Regions from separate parts of the Homo sapiens genome. Here region 2 is linked to region 1. Evidence: promoter capture Hi-C in human tissues and cell types (Jung and others, 2019). All regions are on one chromosome and are shown on one strand. Each heading gives the region's core, a stretch centred on a gene start or on the middle of the fragment in contact. The rest is flanking DNA. Distances are from core to core; before and after follow the strand shown.

Region 1 (3,829 bases), core at 937-3,436:
TAATACTTTTTATTCTTTTCCTTAACAAATTTCAATATTCTTATCATTTCAGTGAAAATATTCTGAATTAGGTGTTCACTAAAGCATAAAAGTTCTTATTGAATAAATAAATGTTCTTATTTATTCAATAAGAATCTACTATATACCTGGCTTTGGGGACACTTGGGATACAAAAATGATTTGGTTTTACCTGCTGTCCTAGAATTAATTAAAGAGAAAAGCCATAATCAAGTGAAATCATATTTGGTCATAAACTGTTATTGAACCAAATGTCAAAAATGAGTGATACAAATTAGTTATGAGTTAGGAATTCCAGATAGAATTGGTTTCCCTAATAATAACTGCCATTATATCAAATATATTTACCAATAGCTATTGTAGTCCAACTCTGGAATGTAAGTACTGCTTTAAAATAAACATTTATAATGTCAACAACTCAAAATTTCAAGCATATGATTAATTATATTGACATACGATTATACTATAATAGCAAAATATTTCTTTTATAAACACCTTAAAAGTTTTCGTGACAAAATTATTTTGGTTAGAATTTAATATAAATATGATTTATTCTGTGTTAGGATTCAAAAGCTTATTCAATTTAAATAAAAACCATACTCCAGAAACTAAAACATTTCTTAGTAGATATAACGGAAACTGTTTTTGTTGGTAAATCTATAATAGGAATTGCTTGGCCCAGGTCACTGAAGCATTTTCTGCTTACTTTACTTAGGAACGTTTTTGGGGGTATGTTGAACAGTTTTCATGTTTCATATAAAAACACGTCAGATGTGTTTATATGTTTTTGAAAAATGTAAAACAAGGCTTGAAACGTTCCATTGTATGCGTCTGTAGGATACACATTTTGACATATTTTTAAAAGGATGTTGGTTCCCAAATCTCATAGGCATATATAAATAAAACAGAATTTAAAAGGTATTACCTTGTTCAAAATCTGTATGAGCAGATCAATCAGATTATAACACATACAATTATAAAATATGGCATGAGAAGAATACAAGAAAATAAAGTATAATACTCTGCAACTAAAAGTATAATATTCTGGAAGTTTACGCCTTTAGGTATTAAATGTTTTATATGTGATAACTGAAATAATACATTAATTTTCTATGAAGAAAAACATTGTGTTAGAAAAAAACCAGCTAGACCAAATAATGCTTTAGAATTAATTCTACAAATTTACTGACAGGAGAGAAACCCTGAGGTTTTATTTTTACCTTGTTTTCTCATTAGACAGTAGAGAACACCAAGTAAAGCTTGACTTTGACATTAAAGCATTATTTTCCGTTTTAGGCTGAGTGGTTTACTTTGCATCAGGTAAACTAAACTGTCTGCCACGTTTTCTTTGTAGCTAGAGTTAGAAGTTGGTAATTCCTAAGCCAAGTTCTCAGCTTTGGAAAACGTGCTCAAAATGCCTGGAAACTGAGGAGTGAGCATTAGGAAGACTTCCCCTGTCTGGGCTGATAGGAGCGGCTCCAGTTTGGCCAACGCAGGTCGTGCCCCGCGAACAGCGCGCTGCTGAACTTTTCATCCGGACGAGAAAAACGCTCAGATGCGCGCCAGCTCCAGGGAATGCCGGGGGGTGCCAGTCCCTCGCCTCTCCCACCCGGGACCCATCATTTGTTACGGAAGGGCGATGGGGTGTGTTTTATTTCTGTTATCACATATAAAACATTTAAAACCTAAAGGGGAGGAGGCACTCGAGCCTGGCAGCCTCGCCTTCCCTGAGCCCAGTGGCTCTCCTCGGAAAGTCGCTGCGGACCCAGAGGATGGGACACCTTTAGAGCGGACTTTGTCAAATCTCTGAGCCGCTCCGCAGCCACTTGACGGAGTTGCCGCCGCCCCCGGAGCTGGGCGCCGAAGCCCGGGAGCCAGCAGCGCCCCGTCCGCCCGCCCTCGCGCGCTTTCTGGCCGCCCTCGGCCCCGGGGCATCCACTGCGTCCCCCCGGACGCCGCCGGAGTCCCCACCTCGCAGCAAAAGCAAGAATGCCGACACCTACCCTGGTGATGACCAAAGGCTGGTTGAAGTCTATGCCCCCTGAGAGCCTGAAGCCCCAGGGCGCAGGGCCCGGGAGGATCACCGTCTGGGGCATGCCGCCTTCCTCCCGCCCACCGGGCTCTAAGTGTCCCCGCGCAGGGCAGCCACTCCGCGCCGGGCGGCGTCCTGGCCCCGACCCGGGCGGGGGCGCTTTATCCCCGCTGGGGGTGACGTCACCGCCCCGCCGTCCTCCCCGCCCCCTCCCACCCCGGAGAGCTCCAACTTTGGAAGCGAGAGCCGCGCCAGCCCCGCGGGAGTGCGCAGCCCGGCCGGCTGGGGCAGCCTCCCGGGCCGCGGCGGGCGCGGGGGCTTCGGGTTACAGCGTCCGTCGCTCTCTTGAAGTCACACCTGTCTCCCTGTTTATCTTCTGCTTGGAGCGCAGCAGTGCACTTTGTTGGAAGCGAAAGCAGCCAGACCACAGCCTCCATGCTTTCAATTAAAACGAGCATCATCGATACAATAAGTTATTTAGCAGTTTCGAGTGCGTTAATATTTACTTACGACCTCTGCGGCTTTGGCCAAATTACTTAATGTCCTTTTAAATTTTTATTTTATTTATTTATTTTTCTTAGAGACCGGGTCTCCACTTTGTTGCCCAGGCTAGTCTTGAACTCCTGGGCTCAAACAATCTTCCCACCTCAGCCTCCCAAAGTGCAGGAGAGTCTGGCCGGGGTCCTGTGGTAGTCTCAGTGTGGACTCAAGTATTTCTGGTGTTACGCGTTGGGATGTTGTGATTCCCAAAGGGAGAGGGGAGAATGAGGGAAGAGAAATAAGAAATGCTTTAAACACTCAAGAATAAGGGTCTTGGACTTAATGCCCCATATGATAGGGTCGTATTGGTCCAGGAGGACAGAGCTGCAGCAGACTTTTAAGAGGGCAGTCTGTTTGGAAGCAGTTTTAAGACTGATGGAGGAAAGAGAAAGGAGATGCAGAAAGCAGTAAGCAGTAAGCAGTAAGCAAAGCGAACCAGCCTGGGCAAATGTAAATCACAAAGGTAGGATGGGCATTACTTTGTCCGCTGTGGTGGATTACATAAAAGTCCCAGGGGATAAGCACTTTCTAGCTCCACACATTTCCCAGTGCCCCATCTATGCTGGACCATCGAGGAGCTGAACATTGTGTGTCCTGCTGACTGCCTGTTTGGGCTGTGGCTGTATCACTGCAGAGCACATTTCTTCAGTCAGCTGCTGGCTCTGTCTGCGTGGTGCAGACATACACGTGCACACACACAGAGGTCCATTCAGAAAAAAAAAATCAGACAAGTCATTTGGTGTTGTGTAATTATAGTAATTGTTTTTACCTTACTTCACGAGCTGGCTTATATAAACAGCTGATTTTTTCTTTGCCTTTTTGCTGGTCATTTTGGCATCATTTAGATGTAGCCAATATCTATACAATATCCACATAATATCTGATGAGTTCTTTCTTTTTGTTTTTTTTTTTTTTTTTTGGAGACAGAGTCTTAATCTGTCACCCAGGCTTGATGAGTTCCTAAGGCTTTGCAGAGAGTGTGGAAAGCAGGGACATGAGATGGGCAGTTTTCCTACATCCTGCTCTTCACGGAGACCAGCAGGAAAGTGCTCAGAAGTGACTGTTAAGGTAGAGGTGAGACTAGCTGGGAGGGAGAATTCTAAGGAAGAAGCACTGGCTGCATCCTAAATGGTCCTAGAAAATCCTGCTTTGGGTTTGGGTACTGTTCTAAGAAGAGGTTCTTTTTGCATGACTTTGATTTTTTTTTAAGTTTACTTATTTATTTATTGAGATGGAGTC
Region 2 (3,829 bases), core at 500-2,999, 510 kb after region 1:
GGAGTAAGAAAGGGCATGATTACTTAGCAAAAGGCCTGGCATTCTCTTATACAACTAAAGACGTTCCTACCAGCAATTCCAGTCCTAGGTGTTTACCTAAGAAAATGAAAACCTTTGTTACAAAAAGACTTTCCCAGGAATGTTCACAACAACAACTTTCCTTATAATACACGAAACCTAGAAATAAGACAGGTGATCACTGACAGGAGAGTGGATAACTATAGAATTATACAGGGGAATACTACACAGCAATAGAAAGAAATAAACTGCTGATACAAACGGTAGCATGAACGACTCTCAAAAACATTATGCTGAGTGGAGCCAGGCGCGGTGGCTCACACCTGCAATCCCAGAACTTTGGGAGGCCAAGGTGGGTAGATCGCCTGAGGTCAGGAGTTTGAGACCAGCTTGGCCAGCATGGTGAAACCCCGTCTCTACTGAAAATATAAAAGTTAGCTGGGTGTGGTGGCAGGTGCCTATAATCCCAGCTACTTGGGAGGCTGAGGCAGGAGAATTGCTTGAACCCAGGAGGCAGAGGTTGCAGTGAGCTGAGATCACACCACTGCACTCCAGCCTGGGTGACAGGGGGAGACTCTGTCTAAGAAAAAACAAACAAACAAACAAACAAATACCATTATACTGAGTGAAAGAAGCCACGTAATATATTATTCTATCTATTGGAAATTCCAGAAATAGGCAAAAACTTACCTGTGGTAAAAAAGATATCAGAACAGCAGATGCTTCTGGGAGAAGGTGTCTGGGGAATACTGGCAGGGAATGAGCTAGAGAACTTCCTGGACCAAAGCAATAACGTTTCTATCTCTTCTTTTTTTTTTTTTTTTTGGAGACAGGGTCTCACTCTGTTGTCCATGCTGGAATGCAGTGGTGTGGTCACAGTTCACTGCAGCCTCAACCTCCTGGGTCAAGTGATCCTTCTGCCTCAGTCTCCCAAGTAGCTAGGACCACAAGCATGCACAACCACACCCAGCTAATTTTTGCATTTTTTTGTAGAGACAGGGTTTTGCCATGTTGCCCAGGCTGCGTTCTATATTTTAATGATGTGTTCATTTATCCACATTGATCAAGTGAAAACTTAAGATTTATGCATTTTCATTGCATGTAAATATTATCTAAAAAACACTTTAAACAAATATCCAACTCTACTTAACGATGTGCCTTGGGAAGACTAGGAGTGAAGTATATAGATGTCTGAAATTTACTTTCAAATGCATCAAACAACAAGACGGATTAAGAGAGGGATGGATAGATGGATGATTATGTGGTAAAGCAAATACAGTAAAACGTTAATTGTGCACTTAATCTTAGCCAAACGGCCGAGAAGCGATAAACGTTAATTGTGGAAGCTAAGGAATGGTATGTGGGTGTTCCCTGTACAATTTTTTCAGCTCTTCTATATGGTTGAACTGTTGGAAAATGGTGAATATAAAGAATCTCAGTGAATGTTCTGAAAGAAAGTCAATTTCTTTGTAATTGGATATGTAACTTAGAATGTCATTAATAGAATTTGAAGGACCAAACTCGAAGTTTAAAATAGAGGTGAGATTTTTAAAAAGGAATCGTGAAGTTTATCACCTCATTTATTCTGAGAAGCAGTTTATTATTTCAAGGTTTCACTGACAACCATAAACACTTGCGCAGATCCATGATGGTACCTCCCAGCTGTGAAATACACATATATGAACACACACATACACACAGAATTGATACCATGATGGTACCTCCCACCTGTGAAATATACATATATGAACATACACATGCACACAGAATTCGTACCATGATGGTACCTCCCAGCTGTGAAATACACATATATGAACATACACATGCACACAGAATTCATACCATGACGGTACCCCCCACCTGTGAAATACACATATATGAACATACACATGCACACAGAATTCGTACCATGATGGTACCGCCCACCTGTGAAATACACATATATGAAAATACACATGCACACAGAATTCGTACCATGATGGTACCGCCCACCTGTGAAATACACATATATGAACATACACATGCACACAGAATTCGTACCATGATGGTACCGCCCACCTGTGAAATACACATACATGAACATACACATGCACACAGAATTCGTACCATGATGGTACCTCCCACCTGTGAAATATACATATATGAACATACACATGCACACAGAATTCGTACCATGATGGTACCTCCCACCTGTGAAATACACATATATGAACATACACATGCACACAGAATTCATACCATGATGGTTCCGCCCACCTGTGAAATACACATATATGAACGTACACATGCACACAGAATTCATACCATGATGGTTCCGCCCACCTGTGAAATACACATATATGAACGTACACATGCACACAGAATTCATACTAACATTGCCAAAGTCCAGAACAACATATTTTAATAACTCTTCCGTGTACATCTGCATCTTCTTTCTTCCACAAGATGCTGATTTTCAAGGATGCAGATGATAGAATATTCAATGATTATTTATGTTCTTTATCCCGCATCATGCACAGTGTGCTGACTGTGAATATTTGGGTGTATATGCATATGAATGTCTGCCACATGTGATGTCAGAGGTAGAGACTACTTTACCACTTTCACATTTGGTAAACTCATAGGAAAGATGGCAAAAGGGGCCGGGCGCAGTGGCTCACGCCTGTAATCCCAGCACTTTGGGAGGCTGACGCAGGTGGATCACTTTCATGCGCGTCCGTGTGAAGAGACCACCAAACAGGCTTTGTGTGAGCAACAAGGCTGTTTATTTCACCTGGGTGCAGGCGGGCTGAGTCCGAAAAGAGAGTCAGCGAAGGGAGATAGGGGTGGGGCCATTTTATAGGATTTGGGTAGGTAAAGGAAAAAGGGGGGTTGTTCTCTGACAGGTAGGAGTGGGGGTCACAAGGTGCTCAGTAGGGGAGCTTTTGAGCCAGGATGAGCCAGGAGAAGGAATTTCACAAGACAATATCATCAGTTAAGGCAGGAACAGGCCATTTTCACTTCTTTTGTGGTGGAATGTCATCAGTTAAGGCAGGAACCGGCCATCTGGATGTGTACGTGCAGGTCACAGGGGATATGATGCCTTAGCTTGGGCTCAGAGGCCTGACATTCCTGTCTTCTTATATTAATAAGAAAAATAAAACGAAATAGTGGTAAAGTGTTGGGACTGGAAAATTTTGGGGGATGGTATGGAGAAATAATGGGCAATGTTTCTCAGGGCTGCTTTGAGCGGGATTAGGGGCGGCGTGGGAACTTAGAGTGGGAGAGATTAAGCTGAAGGAAGATTTTGTGGTAAGGGGTGATATTGTGGGGTTGTTAGAAGAAACATTTATCGTGTAGAATTATTGGTGATGGCCTGGATATGGTTTTGTATGAATTGAAAAACTAAACGGAATAAAAGAAGGAGAAAAACAGGTATTAAAGGTCTAAGAATTGGGAGGACCTAGGACATCTAATTAGAGAGTGCCTAAGGAGGTTCAGCATAGCCTTGCCAGCAAAGATTATTTATTTACTTTAAGAGTTAAGAGTGGCGGTTTGGGGATAGCACCAGGAGATATCAGCTGTGATGGCTTGGAGAAACAGTGTAAACCGGCAATGTAATCAAGAGCAGGGCATGTATGAGTAGTTGAGAACAGTGAATAGCTGTATGACTAGAGAGAAGATAGTAAGGATGACAAGTTTTATGGGGCACAGTCCAAGTTGGTCTGGTGTCTGGAATGAGACTGGGGCCTAATAAAAAGGAGCATCCATACAGGAGCTTAAATGGGCTGTACCCTGTAGCATTCCGAGGACAGGCCTGATATCTGAGAAG

The links. Contacts are between HindIII fragments. The study calls those that stand out against the background at their distance.
Region 2: a fragment that was not itself captured here is called in contact with the fragment with the promoter of PDLIM3 in region 1 in 1 of the 25 tissues and cell types used here (mesendoderm cells).

Annotation. Positions count from the first base shown.
Region 1 is chr4:185,533,321-185,537,149 of GRCh38, forward strand. It overlaps PDLIM3 (PDZ and LIM domain 3), which reads right to left and starts at 2,187. Exons shown (of 8, transcript NM_014476.6): 1 at 2,022-2,187. The coding sequence starts at 2,114. The HindIII fragment of the contact is 14,334 bases long and covers 935-3,829 here.
Region 2 is chr4:186,041,299-186,045,127 of GRCh38, forward strand. No RefSeq gene overlaps it. Among named protein-coding and RNA genes, the nearest start is that of TLR3, 26 kb to the right of the region's middle. The HindIII fragment of the contact is 6,003 bases long and covers 1-3,829 here.